7 separate regions of the Homo sapiens genome follow, and all the other regions are linked to region 4. Evidence: promoter capture Hi-C in 16 types of primary human blood cells and fetal thymus (Javierre and others, 2016). All regions are on one chromosome and are shown on one strand. The core of a region is centred on a gene start or on the middle of the fragment in contact, and the rest is flanking DNA. Distances in the headings are between cores, read along the strand shown.

Region 1 (3,180 bases), core at 196-2,695, 420 kb after region 4:
TCGTTGCCTCGCATATTAAAGAGCTACTGAAACGCAAAGAGAATTTGGGAGGGTTTTCTTTTTCTTTTTTTCCCAACCTTCTAATAATGTTAGCTTAATTAGGGAGGCTCAGTGATAAAGGGAAAGTTTTGGATGATTTGAGCATGGTGTGGTGGAAGGAAGAGAATGAGCAAATAAAGAGAAATGAAAGTGTCAGGCACAGGGGCTATGATGGCTGGAAGATTATGAAGGTTCTACCCTGCAAGGCTTGACTTTGTAGGGTCAGGCTGGGGTGTGGCTAAGAACAGGAGGGTCCCAGGGCATCCTGGGTGCCACAGATCTAAGCTAAGTGCTGCTCCCTTCCACTCTGGCAGGATCTTTTCTTTTGCATTCTTAAAAAAATGTATTTTTTATTGAGCCTTGGAATGTGTCTTTTTCACTTGCCCCCCAAATGATGGCTCGTCCATCCTCTAACTGGTTACTGCTGTTGGCATCTTCACTGGACCAAGGTACTGAAAGTCAGTTCCATCTTTTTTTTTAAAGAAGACTTTATTCTTTTAGAGCATTTTCAGGTCCATAGCAAAATTAAGTGGAAAGTACAGAGTTCCCACATTCCCCTACCCCCACCCTTACCCAGAAGCTCCCTCACGATCAACATCCTGCTGGGAGTGGGACATTTGTCACAATCAGCGAACCTACCTTGACACATCAGTATCACCCAGGGCCCATAGTTTACACGAGGGTTCACTCTTGGTGTTGGCTATTCTATGGGTTTTGACAAATGTCTGATGACTTGTATCACCATTATAGTACCATATGCAATAGTTTCACTGCCCTAAAAATCTTCCATGCTCTGTTATTCATCCCTCTCTGGCAACCTCTGGTCTTTTTATTGTTTTGTCTCCATAGTTTTGTCTTTTCCAGAATGTTACATAGTTGGAACCATACAGTGTGTACCCATTTCAGATTGGCTTCTTCCACTTAGTAACATGCCTTTAGGGACATCCCTTTTCCAAGCTCATCTCTTAGAGCCCAGGAAAGCCTTTTCCCTGATCTCCACTCTTCATGTGTCCAAGCCTTTGGTTCTGTCTGTGCAGACCCCAGTAAGGACTTAGTCTATGTGCTGATTGCCTGAAGGCGTGGGCAGAGTTGGAGATGAGAGGGACAGTGATCACAGAGGATGGATTGGGGAGTGGGGATGGAAGTGGAGTGTGGTGAGGGCCCAGGTAGAAAAACAGGGAGGTTCGGGACCCCGGGATCTAAGATGAAGAAAGGCAAGACCAAATGCTGAAGTAGATTTGGTCAACGTTATTTATGCTTCTAGAGTCTTCCAGACAAGGTGCTTGTCTAGTGGTTTCACGAAAACTTTTAATTTGGTGCTTGCAATAACCGCGCTGCTTAGAGTGACATGATTAGTACAGCCCATTTCACAGGAGAAGAAACTGAGGCTCAAGGAGGAAAGGACCTATGCCCAAATCTGACAGCCAGCAAGGACAGTGCTAGATCTGAATTCCGGGTCAATACTAGGCCAGTGCAGAACTTTCTACGATGGTGGAAATGTTCTAGATCCGCACTGCCCAACATGGTAGCCACGAGCCACATGTGGCTACTGAGAACTTGAAATGTGGCTAGTGAGACTGAGGAACTGAATTTTACATTGTATTTAATTTTAATTAATGTAAATTTAAATAGCCACATGTGGTTGGTGGCTTCCTATTGGACCACACAGCTAGACTCTTGGAGACCTTGGTGCAGCTCCCCAGCTGCCCCCAGCCCGTGAGTTTCCCAGCATAAATGGCAACATCATGACTAATCTCCTTACATCTGATCTCCCTGGGAGCTCCAGGAAGGGGGATCTGGCCTCATCCTTTGCACACCTCACTGTGCCACACTCAGAGCCCATTATGGAATAAATCTACTAATACTTTTTGAATAAACACCTGCTTGTGCCATGGGCTTAGTCTGCAGAATTTCAATGCATCTTTTCAACAACTGATTGCAGTGGCTCCCATTACTATTCCCATATCTTACTAGAGGACAGAGAGGCTCAGCGAGGCTCTCTGACTTTCCCTAAGTCACACAGCTGGTAAATAGCTGGACCAGATTTGGAGCTTAGGCATCTCTGCTCCAAAAGCCCATCCTCTTTTCATGCAGCAGGCACAGGGGCCATACTGGAGTGGATCTCCACCACAACTGCTAACCCAATGGTCCCAAAGGTATTGTTCTTACCCCTGTCCTAGCAGATATTGACTCAAATGCAAGCAGTTTATCTTGGAGATAAAAGGCAATACAGCTAAGAGAGTGAGGAAGTGAGACAGGGAGGAGAAGGCAGACAATAAAGAGGCCATCATCCTGTTAGCGCTCCCGGGGTGGTTGAGGCTTAATCGTGCTGGGGAACTGTGGCAGTCTGTATGGACTACACCATAGAGTTATTCCACCCATGAGGTGAGGGAGCTGGGGCATTTGTCCACCGACTTTCACCATGCATTGGTTGAGAGCTGCTTTGGGTGTGTGTGTGGCACTTCTGGCATGCCACAGAGGTGGACAAAGTGGCTTTTGTGGACAGAGAAAGTCCTCAGGCAAAGAAATAACAAAAAAAACCTCAGAATGTTGGGAAAATCCCTCAGCCTTGGCCAATCCCCTGTGGTCACTATAAGCACCATTTCATCAGAAGGTAAGATGATGCTTTTCTTATGAGTGGTTCATCCCAAGTCCTCCATCACCCTTAGAGACCCCGGGTTCCCTTTTAAGGGGTTTAGCCATAATGAAGCAGATGGTGCTTGCTGATGATCTTTGGAAATTGGGTTGTATTTGCAATTCAGAAAAGGGGCACTGGGATCTTTGCATATGTGTAAAGAAGGTGTTTTCTGAAAATCATAAGGGTGTAAATAAGGTTTAGGTGCATGTTTAAATCTACTTGGGGGACAAACTTTTAGGGAACATTCTCAAGGTCTTTAGGAGTGTCTTTCAGCATAATAAACAACTCATGGATTACGAATTGTTCTTCTAGTTCATTAAAGCATGCTCCATAATCACTGATTGAAGGCAACTCCTAGCCTAGTTCAAGTAACTGTAAACAAAACTGTAAGATTTGGTGCTAAAGCTAGTGTGATCTTCCCCCATTCTGAATTCACTTTGGTATATAAACCTTCTGGCCAGATCATCTTCACTGTTAAACTTTTCAGATTTAGTTTTCCACAC
Region 2 (2,879 bases), core at 95-2,594, 470 kb after region 4:
TGGTGGCACATGCCTGTAGTCCCAGTTACTAGGGAGGCTGAGGTGGGAGGATCGATTGAGTCCAGAAGGTCAAGGCTGCAGTGAGCTGTGATCATGCCACTGCATTCCAGCCTAGGAAACCCTGTCTCAGAAAACCCCAAACAAAACAAAAACAAAAACAAAGAAGACAGTAACTATTTATTACTGCTCATGAGGATTATTGTGAAAATATTTTACTGGGCTCTGCTCTCAAGAGAAGGGAAGTTAAGAAAGCATGATCAAGCAGAAGAAAGTTGAGTAAAGATGAGGTGTTAGCCTGACATAAGCTTCAGCCTGGTTCCATGGAGAGCTCTGGAGGAAAGATGGCACCCCAACATTGGTGCCACCTTAAAGTCCTTTGATACACTCCTCCCTTGCTAATCCATCACTGGCCCCAAGCTGACAGATCCTGTTTAGCCAATGGCAATTCCACAGAAAAGGTGAACACTGTTAGTAGCCAATATTATAGCAGCCTGGTGAAGAAGAAGATGGTAAATTTAGTTATGTGTGTTTTACCACAATTAAAAAAAAATCAAAGGGAAGTACCCCACACTTCCCACAATGGGATGCCCTGCAAAGTTAAAAGGCAAAAGGTGTGGATATATAGCCTTGGTATAGTGGAGTAAGATTTGGGAGCGTTCACCCACTCAATGACATCACTCTACCATGAATCCCGTTTTACAGATGAGGAAACTGAGATAGTGAGAAGGGAAGTGTCTTGCTTAAGTTTGCACAACTGGTGAGAATCAGAGCTGGCATTCAAAGCCCCCTCTGCCTCCAAGGCCTGTCTTTAACCCCTGTGCCCACCACCTTGTGGAGGGAGACAGGCAGGAATCTGATTTGACCTCCAGATTTGGGGACAGGTAGATGGTTGCCCCATCCGCTAAGGCTGAGCAACACAATTTTGAGATCAACTGGGGAATTTTGACCTCCCATTGGAGTGATGTGGGAAAGAAAAGTGGTAGGAGACCGATTTTGAAAGGCAAAGGAAAACTCTCGACTCCAAAATAGCAGCGTTTTCCTCTGGTCTTGCTTTTCTCTACTTGTTTACCTGTAACTTCTTCCAACTTCTGCAGGGACAGAGAGAAGGGGAGGATGGGAATCCTCCAGGGGCTCAGGCTGCTGTTCAGCTCGCAATGTAGCCTGACAAATCAAGTGGGTAAAACCCATTAATTAGCAGTTTTGGAAACAGTTGCAAAGTTAATTATTCCGTTTTCTGATGAAAGAAAGCTAATTTTTGGCATTTACCCTGACAGTGACATGAACTAACATTTTTCGAGTTGACATCCCTCAAGATAAATGATGCTGTGAAGCATTTGTGCAAACATCCTGACCCATAGCTTGCTGCTACTGACTGTCTGCAATGGGTGTCTTTGCCACAGTGTTTTGCCCAGCAAGTTTTGGGGGTGGGCGAGCCAAGGAAGGGATTATCTGAGTCAGGGGGGTGGGAGGGAGGAGTGAAGAAGAGAGAGCTGGTGGCTCGTGAAATACAGAGAAGACTCAAAGCTCCAGGGAACATTTGAATATTCAGAAGGATTTTACTGTAACTGGAGAGCAGGGGAGTGCATTAACATTGTTGTCCATCTGTCTGTCTGTCTGTCTGTTGTGAAATGCATAAACAGAGGAGAAACCTAGTTTTTCCAAGTGGTTGCTTCCAAATTTAGATCTTCTCCCCAGACTTTGCTTTTGAATACTAGGCCCCTGCATCCAACTGTCTGTTTTATATCTCTACTTGGCATCTTTTTTTTGAGATGGAGTCTCTCTCTGTTGCCCAGGCTGAAGTGTAGTGGCAAGATCTCGGCTCACTGTAACTTCCACCTCCAGGATTCAAGTGATTCTCCTGTCTCAGCTTCCCAAGTACCTGGGACTACAGGTGCATGCCACCATGCCCAGCTAATTTTTGTATTTTTAGTACAGACGAGGTTTCACCATGTTGGCCAGGCTGGTTTTGAACTCCTGACCTCAGGTGATCCACCCACCTCAGCCTCCCAAAGTGCTGGGATTACAGGCATGAGCCACCATGCCCGGCTCTCCGCTTGGCATCTTACAGGCATCTGAAACTCACTATGTCCCATAGGAACCCTTAGTCCCCACCCCTACCCCAGCTTTTCCTCCCCAAGTCTTCCTCATTCAAGAAAATGACACCATCTTCCAATTAAGTGCTGGAGCCAGAAACTTAGCCATCATCTCTGGTACTTCCTCTTCCTTCACTCGTTCCCAATATCCAATTTATCAGCAAGATCTGCCAATGTGACCTACAAAACATATCTCGGATCTATCATTACTGTAGTCTAAATCACCATCTTTCCTCCTAACTCAGTGCTGTCCTATAGAAACACAACGAGAGCCACACATAAAAGCTTACATTTCTTGTGACAAAATTTTAAAGAAGTAAAAATAAACAAGTTAATTTAGTTTTAATAATCTATTTTATTTAACATGATATATTCAAACTATTACCATCTTAACATGGCCAATATACACTATGATTGAAATACTTGTTCTTTTGCTTTTTGTGTCCTAAGTCTTCGAAATCCATTGTGCATTTTACACTTACAGCATATTTCAATTTGGATGATAAATTTCCATTGAAAATACTTTATTCGTATTTAGATTTCATAACATTTACTGTTGGAGAAAGTAGAATTATGTACCTAGGTTGTTCCAAACATACTTCAAAGTTTTAAAATAGCTGAATTAAGTATTTTACTTTAACTTTAATTAATTTAAATAAAATATAATATTCAGTTCCACCATTCAGTCATTCAAAAGAATAAATGTCTTTTGCAGCAACATGGATGGAACTGGAGGTCATTACCTTAAGTGAAACAACTCAGACACAGAAAGTCAAATACCTCATG
Region 3 (2,867 bases), core at 135-2,634, 500 kb after region 4:
TTTCTACAAAAAATAAAAACAAAACAAACCAAAAAACAAAAAAACCCCCAAAATTAGCTAGGCATGGTGGCATGCACCTGTAGTCCCAGCTACCTAGGAGGCTGAGGCAGGAGGATTGTTTGAGCCTGGGAGGCAGAGATTGCAATGAACTGAGATTGTGCCACTGCACTCTAGCCTGGGTGACAGAGCAAGACCTTGTTGCACACATGCACATACACACACACACCACACATGGAGAAATCTGAACACAGGTGCATACACACACATGCAGAACGCCAGGTGAAGATTGGAGTTATGCTGTCACAGGCCAGGGAACTATCAGAAGCTGGGAGAGAGGCCTGGAGCAGAACCTTCCCTAGCTCCTTCAGAGGGAACATGGTTCTGCTGGCACCTTGATCTGGGACTTCTAGCATCCAGAGCTGGGAGAGAATAAATATCTGTTAAGCCACTTAGTTTGTGGTACATCAATACAGCATCCGTAGCAAACTACTACCATGCCACTCTGAGAATCCCATGTCCAGAGCTGCAGTTCTGCTTGGCTCAGGGTGACTTGGGCTGTGTGTGTGGGTTCACAGGTTGATGCAGGCTGAGCTTTAGTCCTGGGGAAGTTGAGAGGTCTCATTCTTTTGGTCAAGCTTCTACCAGGCCCAGTGGCCCAGGCAGGGCAGGATAGAGTGGGGCTCTCTTAGGCTCCCATTTCCAGTGTCTGGATTTGCAAATCAAAGGGCCTATTCCAGGCAGGTCCCCGCACCACAGGAGAGTGACAGTATCATTCTCCAGGCCCCTGTAGGCCTTGCTTAGATGGATTTCAAGGATCGGCTTGGGGAGTTGGCCGGAAGGGAAACTGTTAGCAGGCAGGAGCCGGATGCATCTGAAAGGAGCCTGCCCTGGGCCCTTCCTTCCCTACAAGCTGGCTGTGAGTCCTTACAGACAGACATCCTAGACCAGGTTAACCTTTAACCAGGCAGCTCCGGTTCTCAGCTCTTGGGCCTAGGGCTCCTGCCGGCCTGTGAGCAGGCCTGCTTTTCTGCTCCTGTCTCTGGCGAACCAGAGTCCCTGATGAATTGCCCACACACCCCCACCCTGAGCCCTGCCACCATGTTGAGTGCTGGTGTCCCAGCAAAGATGAATGGGCCCCACTAATGAGCTGGAGGTGGTGGTGCTGTGACCCCTGACCCCACACACTCGTAGCCAGAGGCTTGGGGAATGGCTGCCCCAAGCCTACTTAATGTGTCGGGCTGGCCTCTGAAAGAAAAGCACATTTATTGCTACTTAGAGAAAATTGATCTAATTGGGATGGAAGCATTCTGCTGATGGAACATGGAATTTTTATTAGGAGGGTGACTCGAGTTCAGCCAATGTATCCCAGCTGGAAGGAGGCAAGAGAATGTTTCTAGGGATTTTACCCAAAAAAACCTCTTTCCAGCTGATACCAAATATCTGAGGAGGTCTGGGTTTGAATTCTGGCTGCGCCGCCTACAGAGCCTACATTCTAGAAGCATTTGGCAGCTTCTATCAGGCCTGATAAATGAGAAGAAATTATGGCATTCTCGCTGATTTGTTGTGAGAAGAAAGTGAGATTATGCATGCATCAGGGCTATGGCACTGCCCCTAGCAAGAGACTGGGTCCAGTGGGAACTTCTCGAGCCAAGGCTACACATGGTTTCAGTCCGTTTGGCCAAACATCCTGCAATTCAATAACAAACCAGCCAATTCCTTGTTGGCTGCAATTGAGGTGACTCATTTGAGAGCTATTTTTAGACAGAGCTCTGGGCTCTGAAATGTGGGGGCCATACCCCCTTGATAGCCTCAGAATCACCCCTGGCTGCTGCTTCTCTGTCTCTTACCGCAGCCAAGTTTGTTTAATATCTCCTAAGTTTTCCTAAACTTACTGTGACCCCATCTTCCACTGCTCCAGCCTTCATATAGGCGGTCATGATCACTGACCACTCTGGCTGAGGGACTGTGTTTATCTCCTCCCTGGCTTCTCATCTTGTTTTCCCCTGGTCAAGCCTCCACACCCATTCTCCAAACCAGTCCACCCTCCATACCAGTTCCTCCCGCACACTGGTGCATTTTCTGCAAATGGATCTTTCTAAAACACAATTGGAATGAGATCACTCCTAAGCTTAAAACCCTTCCATGGCTCCCCACAGCCTCCAGGGTGAAGTCCAAATGCCTTAGCCTGCAATTTGGGTTCCTCAACAGGATAACTATATCATTTACCATTGGTTAAACTAGGATAGTTTTATCCAGGACAAATGGTAAATTGCATGGAATGCACAGTCAACAGGATAAACCAGGACTGTTCTAGGCAAGCTGGGATGTATGGTCACTCTATCTGAAGGCCAGATGGGCTGGAGGGACCAGTTTCAAGACGGTGCACTCATGTGGGTGTCAAGATGGTACTGCTATTGGCAAGAGGCCTCAGTTTCTCTCCATGCAGGCTCCTTCATAGGACTGCTTGAGTGTCCTCAGAGCAGGGCAGCTAGCTGGCTTCCCCCAAAATGAGTGGCCTAAGAGAGGGCAACGAGGAAGCCGCAGTGTCTCTTATGCTCTGCATGGTACATCCTGGTGCTTCTCATATCTCACCTGGCTCAAGGGCTGGCCCTTGTTCTGCCCCTTCCTCTTGGAAGCCACTTATCACATATTATTTAATATCATTTCTTCTGTATTCTGTTTGTTAGAAGCAAGTCACTAAGTTCAGCTGATTCTTAAGGGGAGGGTTCATTTTTTTAGAGGGAGTGTCATAGCATTTGTAGACACAATTTAAAACCACCACACCTTATTTAATAAGAGAGTTTCTTAGAGGATAGTCCCCAGGACACCTGTGTCTGAATCACCTGGGACATGTGAAAAAAAAATGT
Region 4 (3,170 bases), core at 637-3,136:
TAAAAACACAACCAGAAAGGCAGGGCGCGGTGGCTCACGCCTGTAATCCTAGCACTTTGGGAGGCCGAGGCGGACGGATCACGAGATCAGGAGATCGAGACCATCCTGGCTAACACGGTGAAACCACGTCTCTACTAAAAAAAAAAAAAAAATACAAAAAAATTAGCTGGGCATTATGGCGGGCGCCTGTAGTCCCAGCCACTCGGGAGGCTGAGGCAGGAGAATGGCGTGAACCCGGGAGGCAGAGCTTGCAGTGAGCCGAGATCGCGCCACTGCACTCCAGCCTGGGCGACAGAGCGAGACTCTGGCTCAAAAAACAAAAACAGAAAGAAGAGGAAAGGACACAGATCACAGTCACAGAGAAAAAAAGGTCACCTGAAGAGGGATATGCGGAGGGAAAGTAGAGGCTGGAGTGATGCTGCTACAAAGAATCCTTGACCAAAGAACGCCAGAGATTGCCAGGAACCACCAGTGGCTGGAAGAGGCAAGGAAGGCTTCTCCCCAGAGCCACTGGAGGGGGCATTGCCCTGCTGGCCCATGGATTTTGGAGTTAGCCTCCAGAAATGTGCAAGAATACATTTCTGTGTGTTAAGCCACTGAGTCTGTGGCTGTTACCACAGCCCTGAGAAACTCACACAACCTACACCTGGAAGCTGGATTCCTTCAGCTTCTGTGTTCTGATTCCAAAGCCTGGGGGAAAGCAGGATGGGCCTAGCTGGGGTCAGATGTCCGCCCCACAGAACCCAAAAGCCACTAAAGCTAAGGGCAGGAAATAGATGTGGGTTTCGGAGCTGCCCCTTCCAGTATCCTTGATAACCATCACCCTATCCAAAAGGCATTAATTCATATCTCAAGGTCAATTTGGAGGGAGGTCTCTCCAAGCAAGCCCCAGAGTTCTGTACACCTATCAGCTCCTGGGGCAAAGACACAGACGGCTGTAGCCACCGGTGTGGATGAGACAAGGCCAGGAAAGTACCGCTCTGATGACAGAATCAGAAGGACTCTGTGCAGGTTAGAGAGTTAGCAAGGTGATACTGAATGAGGACGACGATAAAACCCAACTCTTGGGTTCCAAGAGTCAACTTCACAAGCAAAATGTGGACGACGCCTGGCTTCACCGCGGCAGTGCCTTGTGAGAAAGACCTGAGGATTTTCTCTGACCAGCCGGCTTAGAGCTTCAGTTGCACGAAAAGCACAGCACTTTTGGCTGGGCTGGGGCGGTGATAGGCCTTTCGGGCTCGGTGCAACCCATACCTAAGACAGAGAGGCAACACAGGCGCCTCCAGAGAACCAGAGGTGCAACCGGGCCACCAGGCTACGTGGCAGAGGTTGCGGGGTAAGGGGGAGGTGGGATGCCTGGGGAGAGGTCAGCGGAGTTATCAAACTAAGGTTCCCGGGCAATGATGGGGCCAGGAGGCAGAGCGAGCAAACGGGGATGATCTGGGGTCTATTCCAAAGAGGTGGCGGGGGAGGTGGTGCTGCTGTGCCCCCAGTCACGGCCATCTCGGCTCCAGAGCCCTGGAGAGCAGTTCCCGGGTTCACACGGACTCTGAAGACAAGCGTATCCTGAGGGTGGACGACTCCTGGAAAGTCCACGCCCAGGCTGGCCTCAGGGGTCCGCTTCTCTGCGTCTCGCCCCGTGCCCGCAGGCGACAGAGTGGCTGGTGTGCTCGGGGGGCCTCCCAGGGCGCGGCGGCCTGCGCCCCTGCCACCTGGGGCTGCTCCCTTTGGAACCTCCTGTTCGCAGGCGGCTCCTCGGCCGTCCGCTCGGAGCTGGGGCGAGGGGCTGGCGGCGGCGAGCGGCGCGGCCCCAAGTTTATGCTAATCCGCAAAGAGCCCGCCTCCCGCCTCCCCTCCGCGGCCCCAGCCGCTAGCAGCGCCGGCCACTCCGCGGGACGCAGCCGCCGCGAAGCGCCAGGCGGCCGGGCCAGCGAGCTCGGGGGCCGAAGGGGACCCCGGGACCCTCGGGGCGGGACCCGGGCCGACCAGCGGCGGGGGCGGCGCGGCGCTGCAGGCGGACACCCGGCGGGGGGCACCGCGCGGGGCCGGGCAGAGGCGCGGGGGCCGCTATGGGCCGCCGCCGCCTGCTCGTCTGGCTGTGCGCCGTCGCGGCGCTGCTCTCGGGGGCGCAGGCCAGGGGCACCCCGCTCCTGGCGCGGCCTGCGCCGCCCGGTGCCTCCCGCTACAGTCTCTACACGACGGGATGGCGCCCGCGGCTGCGCCCGGGGCCGCACAAGTAAGCGCGGGCGGGCGGCGGGCGGGAAGAGGGAGGGATGGGCCCGCGCGCGTCGCCGCTCCCACCTGCCCGCACCCGCGGGGGGCGTCGAGGCCCCGGGCACCCCGAGGCCGCTGCACAGAGGGGGCGGCGCCCGGGGCCGAGCCCCTGCCCAGGCGAGCGCCCTACGCTCCGGGAGGTTGCGGGGCTGGCGAGGAAAAAGGAACCGAGGGGGCCTGGCGCGGCGGCTTGGGATCCTGGCAGTGCCAGCGGAAACCTTTCCAGCGAAGTAACATTTTCCAGCTGCGCTGTGTGCAGACTCCGGGCGAGCGGACCAGGTGGAGGGAGAGGAGGAAAGGCGGTCCGCGCGCTGAGCACGCGGGGCTCCCCCGCCCCGGGCCTCCCTTCTCTCCCCTGGCCCGGCCAGGTAGGAGATAGAGCTGCGCATCCGGGCGGCCGCTGCCCTCTCGCAGTCAGCCTGGCCCCAGCAACCCCATGGGAGCCCCAGCGTGGCCGGGCTGCAGAGCCAGAGCGGGCTCCTGGCTCCGGGCCTGTGCTGTGGCACAGCCGTCCACAGCGGTCGGCTTATGCCAGGCAGCCACCTCCTCAGCCCTTGTGGCTCATCAAGGAGCCTGCTTTCCCCGCCTCAGCTTCTGGTGTTTCGTGGGCAGTGGCTTGCGAACTGGCCTCAGTTAAGTGGGCTGGAGGCTCTGCCTGGGGTGCTGGCTGAACTTGAATTCTAGCTGAATTTGAGAGCTGTTGTAGGAGGAAGAGTACCGACACTCAGTGGGCCTGGGTACATCACAGCGAGCCTCCTGGAGGAGGTGGTACAAGAACTGCTCTGAGAGTAAGGGAACAGGACCAAAGGCAGGGGCTGCAAAACTACGAGGAGAGGTGGATTTCCCCGGGAGCCAGGCAGGGAGGAAGGACAAGACATGGTGCTCTCAAAGGAGTC
Region 5 (2,713 bases), core at 131-2,630, 390 kb after region 4:
CAAATTCAATAAGGCTGCAGGATACAAAAACAACATACCAAAGTCAGTACCATTTCTATTTGCCAACAGCGAACAACCTGAAAAAGAATTCAAGAAATTAATCCCATTTACAATTGCCACGAATAAAATAAAATACCTGGGAATTAACTTAACCAAAGAGGTGAAAGATCTCTACAATTAAAATGATAAAACAGTGGTGAAAGAAACTGAAGAGGACACAAGGAAATGGAAAGATATTTCATATTCATGGATTAGAAGAATCAATATTGTTAAAATGTCCTTACTACCCAAAGGAATCTACAGATTCAATGCAATCCCTATCAAAACACCAATGACATTCTTCACAGAAATAGAATAAACAATCCTAAAATTTATATGGAACCACAAAAGACCCAGAATAGCCAAAGCGATCCTGAGCGAAAAGAACAAAACTGGAAGAATCACATTACCTGCCTTCAAATTATATTACATAGCTATAGGAACCAAAACAGCATAGTACTGGCATAAAAACAGACACATGCACTAGTAGAGCAGAATAGAGAACTCCCGAATGAATCCATATATCTAGGGTGAACTCATTTTTGGCAAAGGTACCAATAACATACATTGGGGAAAGGACATTCTCTTCAATAAATGGTGCTGGGAAAAGTGGATATCCACATGCAGGAGAATGATACTAGACTCCTATCTTTCACCACATAGAAAAATCAAATCCAAATTGATTAAAGACTTAAATGTAAGACCTCAAACTATGAAACCACAAAAAGAAAACACTGAGGAAACCCTCCAGGACATTGGAGAGGTAAAGGATTTCTTGAGTAATAATAACCCACAAGCACAGGCAACTAAAGCAAAAATGGACAAATGGGATCACACCAAGTTAAAAAAAACTTCTACACAGCAAAGGAAACAATCAACAAGTGAAGAGAAACCCACAGAATCACAGAATCATAGAATCCCATAGAATCATAGACAACCCATAGAATCATAGAATCACAGAATGAAGGACAAAAATCATAAGATCATTTCAATTGATGCTGAAAAACCATTTGATAAAATTCAACAGCCTTCATGATAAAAAAAACCCTCAAAAAACCTCCCATAGAATGGGAGAAAATATTGGCAAACTACCCATCTGACAAGGGACTAATAACAGAATATATAAGGAGCTCAAATAACTCTATAGGAAAAAACCTAATAATTCTATTAAAAATGGGCAAAATATCTGAATAGACATTTCCCAAATGAAGACATATAAATAGCACACAGGTATATGAAAAGGTGCTCAAAGTCATTGATCATTAGAGAAATGCCAATCAAAACTACAATGAGTTATCATGTCACCCCAGTTAAAATGGCTTTTATCCCAAAGACAGGGAATAACAAATGCTGGTGAGGATGTGGAGAAAAGGGAACTCTTGTACACTGCTGGTGGGAATGTTAATTAGTACAACCACTATGGAGAACAAGTTGGAGGTTCCTCAAAAAACTAAAAATAGAGCTACCGTACAATCCAGCAATCCCACTGCTGGGTATATACCCAAAACAAAGGAAATCAGTATATCAAAGAGATATTTGCACTCTCATGTTTACTGCAGCACTATTCACAATAGTCAAGATTTGGAAGCAATCCATCAACAGATGAGTGGATAAAGAAAATGTGGTGCATATACACAATGGAATACTATTCAGTCATAAAAAGAATGGTATCCTGTCATTTGCAACAACATGGTTGGAACTGGAAGTCATTATGTTAAGTGAAATAAGCTAGGCACAGAAAGACAAACTTCGGGCTAGGTGCGGTGGCTCATGCCTGTAATCCCAGCACTTTGGAAGGCCGAGGCTTCCAAAGTGGATCATTTGGATCATTTGAGGTTAAGAGTTCAAGACCAGCCTGGGCAACATGGTGAAACCCCATCTCTACTAAAAATAAAAAAAAACTAGTTGGGTTCAGGAGCGCGTGCCTGTAATCCCAGCTACTCTGGAGGCTGAGGCAGGAGAACCGCTGAAGCCTGGGAGGCGGAGGTTGCAGTGAGCCAAGATTATGCCATTGTACTCCAGCCTGGCAACACAGTGAGAGACTCTGCTGCAAAAAAAAAAAAAAAAAAAAAAAAAAAAAAGACTGCATGTTTTTGCTTATTTGTAGGAGCTAAACATTAAGATGATTGAATTCATGGAGACACAGAGTAGAAGGATGGTTAATGGGTACAAAAAATTAGGAAGAATGAATAAGACCTACTATTTGCTAGCACAACAGGGTGACTATCATAAAAAATAGTTGTACATTTAAAAATAACTAAAAGAGTAATTGGATTGTTTGTAACACAAAGGATAAACGCTTGAGGTGATGGATACTCCATTTACCCTGATCTGACGATTACACATTGTGTGCCTCTATCAAAATATCTCTGTAAGCCACAAATATTAATATATACACTTATGGCCCGGTGCAGTGGCTCACGCCTGTAATCCCAGCACTTTGAGAGGCCAAGGCAGGAGCATTACGTGAGCCCAGGAGTTCGAGACCAGCCTGCAATATAGTGAGACCTTGTCTCTACACAAAAAAACCTTAAAAAATAAGCTGGGCATGGTGGTGTGCACCTGTGGTCCCAGCTTGGGAGCTTTGGCAGGAGGATCCCTTAAGCCCAGGAGGCAGAGGTTGCAGCGAGCTGAGATTGCGCCACTGCACAACCGCCTGGGCAACAGAGTGAAA
Region 6 (2,841 bases), core at 168-2,667, 430 kb after region 4:
CCAGCACTTTGGGAGGCCAAGATGGGTGGATTGCTTTAGCTCAGGGGTTCGAGACCAGCTGGGCAAAATGGTGAAACCCCATCTCTACAAAAAACACAATATTAGCCAGACCTGGTGGTGCATGCCTGTAGTCCTAGCTACTCAGGAGGCTGAGGTGGGAGGGTCATTTGAACCCAGGACATTGAGGCTGAAGTGATTCTTAAGCATGCCATTGCACTCCAGCCTGGGTAATAAAGTGAGACTCTATCTCAAAAAAAAAAAAAAAAAAAAAAAAAAGAATGTTTCCGTCTTTCACCCTCCCTCTTTTCTATCTCTGTAAAATGAGAATCATCATCTTCCAATCATTGGGATGTTGGAAAGATTCTGTTTAAATGAGGCTTTATCATCTGGAAGACCCATAGGATTTGGTAGTTCAAAGTCCAGCACAAGCTGAGGGTCGTATCCTGACCCAAGGGTCATGTAAGGGGCCAGCATACCCTCAAGCCCACTCACCAGGGAGCAGCACATCCTGTGGTCCGTCTGTAGGTCAGTGGATTGCATCCAGGCTCCTGGAATCAATGCCCCCAGTCTGAGAGTTCCCAGGTCCCCCTGCAAAACTGACAGCTTGATCCCCATGAAAAGTATCTGCTTATGAGGTCAACTATCATGCCTCACTGGGCCCCCTCACCCCCACTCCCTCTGTACAGGCTACAGACATGCTGTGTAGCAGCATGAAGGATGTCCTTCTCAGTATCATCTGGCTCTGAGTAGAGGGCATATTTATAGGATAGGAAATGTCACACCTATGTTTCCAGTATTTCCTCTATTAAAAGGTACAACCTGCCAGGCTGTGCAAGAAGATTTCTCTGCAGTGGGAACAAGAATTGAGGTGGGGGCCAAACTGGGCATGAGGTTTAGAGGCCAAAGTCCTTCTTCACAGCCTTGGCTCACCTGGGAATAGCCCCTCCTTCCTGCTGGGTAAGGTCAAGGACCTCTCTGACTCAGTCTGTCTACCCATGACCCCTTCATCTGGGCTTGAGGCTCTCATCATCTCTGGTCTTTGCATTATTGCTTATTTTTCCTATCCTGTGGCTTAGGATAATTACCAAATAATTATCAAACAAAATAATTATCAAAGCCAGTCTTTATTGAGAAAACAGTGGGAGCTAGGTGCTGTGCTAGGCCCTTTCATAAGCATAATTCAGTTCTCCCTGCAATCTCAGGAGGTAGACAGCATCAGTATGCTCAGATGAGGAAACTGAGGCTTAGAGAGGTTAAATACTTGTTTGAGGTTATGCTGCTCTTGGTTCCTTCCTATGAAGACTCACACATATTTGGAGCCCAGAACTCCCACCCACTCTAGGGGCCTTGTCCCTCTGTATCCTTGCTCTCCTGGGATTACTGCCCATTATCTTTGGGACTCGGGACAAGATGGTCTTGGGGCTCGGTTCTCCAGAATCCTAGGGCTCCTCTAGCTACTGGGAAGAGGAGGCAGCCCACCTCCAGGGACTGTTTGCAGCAGCGAGCTTGAACTTACTTTATTCATATGTCACAAAGGCAAAGATCCCAGCAGGCTGACAGACTGAGTGTGGGATCTGGATCTCTCAGAAACATACAGCCACCTCTGTTACTATAAAAACAATGTTTTTAGAGGATTTCAGAAAAAAATTCATAATGTGAAAGAAAAAAAGCTATGTGACAAAAAACCATCTGAGAGGCAGCCGTTACCATCTGCTGCCTGTGCAGCTGCTTCTAGGTTGCAGACCACTCCCCCACTTCCTCTGATCTGCCTGGGAAGGGTTTCAAGCCCAAGACTTGTGTATTGGTGTGGACTCAACACATCTGAGTAGGAAGCTCAAGGTACTCAGGCAAAGTGCTTTGAGAGCCCCTATCTTGAGCCAAACCCACCTTTCAGCCATCTTTCCCAGCTCCGCTACTGCATACTCTTGACTTTAACATAGTCACTCCTTAGTTTCTCCATCTGTAAAATGCAGTAATATTTGTGTGCATCATTGGCCCAATAAGTGCAGACACAGGGAATCAGCTCTTGCTTTTGAGTATAAAGGCAAACTCCCACCTGCCTTCAGGTCTTTGGATGACGTGGGTCCTCATTCATTCCCCTGATGATAAGCCGTAGAAAAAGGGGAGATGTATTTTTATGGTCACCATTTGGCGACTTCCTGATATAGGAAGAGGAGGCCACAGAGAGTGAAGATGGTAACAACTTTTCTGGCTGGATCTCCCCTGTCTGGGGGGGGGCTCTTGATGGTTAGCCCAGTTGCAGGGGTGCACACAGTAGGTGAGTTCAAGCAGGCTGAGGATACGCTTCCCCAACAGGGAATTTTCAAAAGACTCAGAACCCAGGCCTAGCTTGTCAACCTGGTGGGGTCTTAGCCTCTGTGACATATAATTCAAATGAGCAGAAACTCCCTTCTGATGGCCTCTGTTCCTTTCTCAGGGTCTGAGGGGCAGGTAGCATGACTGCCTCTACGGCATAGATATGAGAGTTGACCATGGCATGAGTATGTCTACTGAGTGCAGAGTGGAACAGGATCTGACCTCATTCTTAGAGAATCTGAAGCAGAAGTCTTCTAACCTCACAGGAAGGATGGAAGAGTGAGTAGCATGATGCCTGGAAAACTCTCAGCACAAAGATTGTGTCAGAGGATGTGCTTAATGCAGAAGAGCAGTTATTATTATTGCCAATAGCATTGGTTATTATTACTTCTATCATCAACATCAGGAATGACATAGTGAGGAAGAGGTGGCTAGCTGACCTCCAAAAGATCATGCTTCCCCTTTAATAGAATAGGGTTCATGCTGGCAGCTACCCAGACAGGACCTATACCTCTCAGACTCCCT
Region 7 (2,801 bases), core at 290-2,789, 260 kb after region 4:
CTGGGCAACAGAGCATGACCCTATCAAAAAAAAAAAAAAGGGGGCGGGGGGTGGGGTGGGGGCGCAACCAGCCTTCTGGGTGTGCAGAAGCATGAGATACCTAGAGCAAGAATGTCTTCCACTTCTCAATCCTAAAAGTACTCAGAAATTAAAAGCTTACACAGTTAAGCTAAGGAGTCATCTGCACTCTCACATCATGTGTACCAGTGTTATGCACTTGTTTGGCTACAAGAGTTTCAGTAACTACCTGCTATCATGGGTGGGTGATTTAGTAGTTGGTGACACAGAAAAAATACCTAAGTCTTAGTACATTTTGACATTTAACAGGGTGAATAAGAAAAGGTGAGATATAAGCTGTCCTCATGCACAAGTCAGTAGTAAATCTCCATGACAACTGTTCTTACACATGCACGGAAAAATTGGACACAAAAGGCTCACCTTCAACAGTAGAGTACCCAACTCTGGAGTGGCCTCTTTCCCCTCACTCTAGTGCACATGGACTACCAAAGCCTGTCTCAAAGTCCCCTAGGGTTACGTTTGCTCAGTTCCTTAGTCACACCACTGGAATGTAAGGTAGGAGTCAGGTAAACGAGATTTAGAAAAACCCAACCCGCACGTCATTCACAGGATACTACCAGACCAACTTTTCTTCACAGGCTGGCTGGGCTTCTGCACCAAGGATCTAGGATTCTCTCAAATAAGCTGAGATGGAGGTGGAGGCAGAAGCCACCCCGCTTAGATCCAGCAGGAGATGGCTGGCCTCCAAGAAGTATGCTTGTCCCTGCAGTGTTCAATGCCCTGAACAAGCTTTCTTGACTACTTTTAGAAAATAAACTATCCACCTAGGTCTTCCAGGCAAGGTCTCACAAAACCATCTCAAGAAGACAAGGAATCCACTGGAGAAGGCTGCCTTTGACCACCTCTCCTCTTTCCCTAATTCAATCACACTTCAGTAATGGGTAAAAATCTAATTTAACTGATTGTAGATGACATTCTTTGGATGACTTTTTAAAACTAGTAGGCCCACTATATTGTCTCTCTAATATAGCTGCTATCCATTCAGCAGAGTGGTTGGGTGGAATCAGGATCTGGATTCAAGATTACAAAGTTGGGGGTGAGAAGGCAAATTGGATTCTGTTTTCTAGTAACTTTCTCAGACGTTTGTAATGGGGAAGAGGACATTTGCCAGTATTCTTACATGACTATTTCCCTTCTCAGTCAATTTCCACCAAGCAACCACTGATCCTTCAATCTGATTACTATCATCATGGATAAATTTTGCCTAGTCTAGATTATATAAATAGAATCATACAATATAGACTCCTCTGTCTGCCTTTTTAACTTTTTTTTTTCCCTCTGAGACAGCGTCTCGCTCTGTCACCAGGCTGGAGTACAGTGATGCAATCTCGGCTCAGTGCAACCTCTACCCCTCAGGTTCAAGCGATTCCCATGTCTCAGCCTCCTGAATAGCTGAGATTACAGGTGTGCGCCACCCTCGGCTAATTTTTGTATTTTTTTGTAGAGACGGTGTTTCGCCATGTTGGCCAGGCTGGTCTCGAACTCCTGACCTGAAGTGATCCACCCGCCTTGGCCTCCCAGAGTGCTTGGATTACAGGCATGCACCAACCGCACCTGGCCCTTAACCATGTTTTTAAGATTCATCCATGTTGTTGAATACATAAGTAGTTCCCTTCTTAACTGCTGATAAATATAGTATATTCTATGACTATACCATAATGTGTTATCTATTCTGGGATGTTTCCAGTTTTGCACTCTTATGAATAGAGCACTGCTATGAACATTCTTGTACAAGTTTTTTCATGGATAAATGTTTTTATTTCACTTGAGGTAAAAATACCTAGAACTGGAATTCGTATCTCCCTGTGGTTAAATCTTCACTCCACTGATAATTAGTGATGTCGAGCACTCTTTCATTTGCTTATTTATTGACCATTCCTGTATCTTCTTTTGTATAGTATATGTTCAAGTCTTTTGCTCTTTTTATTATGCGGATGGGATGTCTGTTTTTTTATTATGGAGCTACAGGAATTCTTTGTATAGTCTGGATATAAGCCCTTTCAGATAAACATGTTGCAAATATTTTCTTTTAGTCTGTAAATTCTGTATTTATTTTAGCAGTGTCTTTTGTTGAACATAAATTTTTAATTTTAATGAAGTCCATTTAGTCAATTGTTTCTCTTGTTGGTGTTTTTCTGTCCTAAGGAATCTACTCTAAGGTCATATTCAACCATGATATCACCTACAAGCTTTAATATTTTAGTCTTCACACTTAGGTCTATGTTAGTCTTACTAATAAATAGATTTAAAACGTTTTGAATTTTATACCAAGATGCCAGGCTCAGAATATATATATATTTTTAATGAGCTTGTGTCTTATTTTCTCTAATAGAACTCACCAAAATGAGAGCTTCCCAAGATGAATATTGTAAAGATACTTTCCTTCACATTTAGCCCTTTAATCCCTAGGTGGTTACATATAAAAGGTTGTAAGCACATACATTTTTGGAACCCCACAGAATTCTAGACTCTAAAGAGAAAAAAGGCAGAAGTGTGTATTTGGCACTGAGAGTATTTTAACAGGACTAAACGCAATACGATGTCAACATTGATCCTAAAGTTTGCTGTACTGCATTTGAAAGAAAAATCATGATGATAAATTCTGTTTGTAAGGTTAAGGCTGGTTTGAAAAAACCTGAATTTTACTAAGGGCTACTTTCCCTGGGTTGTGAGAGCAGGTAATGCTTCCAAACTTGGCAGTGGATTGTACTTAGCAGTGAGTA

Evidence for each region. The method cuts DNA at HindIII sites, captures the fragments that hold promoters and counts their contacts. A CHiCAGO score of 5 or more calls a contact.
Region 1: a contact is called between a fragment that was not itself captured here and the fragment with the promoter of EMILIN3 in region 4, in 2 of 17 cell types (non-activated CD4 T cells and activated CD4 T cells). The highest score is 7.8, in non-activated CD4 T cells.
Region 2: a fragment that was not itself captured here is called in contact with the fragment with the promoter of EMILIN3 in region 4 in 1 of 17 cell types (non-activated CD4 T cells); the score reaches 5.7 in non-activated CD4 T cells.
Region 3: a fragment that was not itself captured here is called in contact with the fragment with the promoter of EMILIN3 in region 4 in 1 of 17 cell types (activated CD4 T cells); the score reaches 5.7 in activated CD4 T cells.
Region 5: a fragment that was not itself captured here is called in contact with the fragment with the promoter of EMILIN3 in region 4 in 4 of 17 cell types (activated CD4 T cells, non-activated CD4 T cells, total CD4 T cells and 1 more); the score reaches 7.0 in activated CD4 T cells.
Region 6: a fragment that was not itself captured here is called in contact with the fragment with the promoter of EMILIN3 in region 4 in 7 of 17 cell types (naive CD4 T cells, activated CD4 T cells, non-activated CD4 T cells and 4 more); the score reaches 9.4 in naive CD4 T cells.
Region 7: a contact is called between a fragment that was not itself captured here and the fragment with the promoter of EMILIN3 in region 4, in 3 of 17 cell types (naive CD4 T cells, non-activated CD4 T cells and endothelial precursors). The highest score is 6.4, in naive CD4 T cells.

The regions. Positions count from the first base shown.
Region 1 is chr20:40,948,938-40,952,117 of GRCh38, reverse strand. No RefSeq gene overlaps it. Among named protein-coding and RNA genes, the nearest start is that of TOP1, 78 kb to the left of the region's middle. The HindIII fragment of the contact is 9,551 bases long and covers 1-3,180 here.
Region 2 is chr20:40,898,204-40,901,082 of GRCh38, reverse strand. No RefSeq gene overlaps it. Among named protein-coding and RNA genes, the nearest start is that of TOP1, 130 kb to the left of the region's middle. The HindIII fragment of the contact is 2,073 bases long and covers 308-2,380 here.
Region 3 is chr20:40,867,863-40,870,729 of GRCh38, reverse strand. No RefSeq gene overlaps it. Among named protein-coding and RNA genes, the nearest start is that of SNORD154, 150 kb to the right of the region's middle. The HindIII fragment of the contact is 1,493 bases long and covers 638-2,130 here.
Region 4 is chr20:41,365,534-41,368,703 of GRCh38, reverse strand. It overlaps EMILIN3 (elastin microfibril interfacer 3), which reads left to right and starts at 1,886. Exons shown (of 4, transcript NM_052846.2): 1 at 1,886-2,236. The coding sequence starts at 2,070. RefSeq lists an enhancer at 2,648-3,149. The HindIII fragment of the contact is 20,041 bases long and covers 1-3,170 here.
Region 5 is chr20:40,972,294-40,975,006 of GRCh38, reverse strand. No RefSeq gene overlaps it. Among named protein-coding and RNA genes, the nearest start is that of TOP1, 55 kb to the left of the region's middle. The HindIII fragment of the contact is 3,198 bases long and covers 1-2,713 here.
Region 6 is chr20:40,930,478-40,933,318 of GRCh38, reverse strand. No RefSeq gene overlaps it. Among named protein-coding and RNA genes, the nearest start is that of TOP1, 97 kb to the left of the region's middle. The HindIII fragment of the contact is 3,416 bases long and covers 1-2,841 here.
Region 7 is chr20:41,108,841-41,111,641 of GRCh38, reverse strand. The region is part of intron 13 of TOP1 (DNA topoisomerase I); the gene reads right to left. All of the region lies in intron 4 of PLCG1-AS1 (PLCG1 antisense RNA 1), which reads left to right. Among named protein-coding and RNA genes, the nearest start is that of PLCG1, 27 kb to the left of the region's middle. RefSeq lists a silencer at 166-245. The HindIII fragment of the contact is 1,460 bases long and covers 810-2,269 here.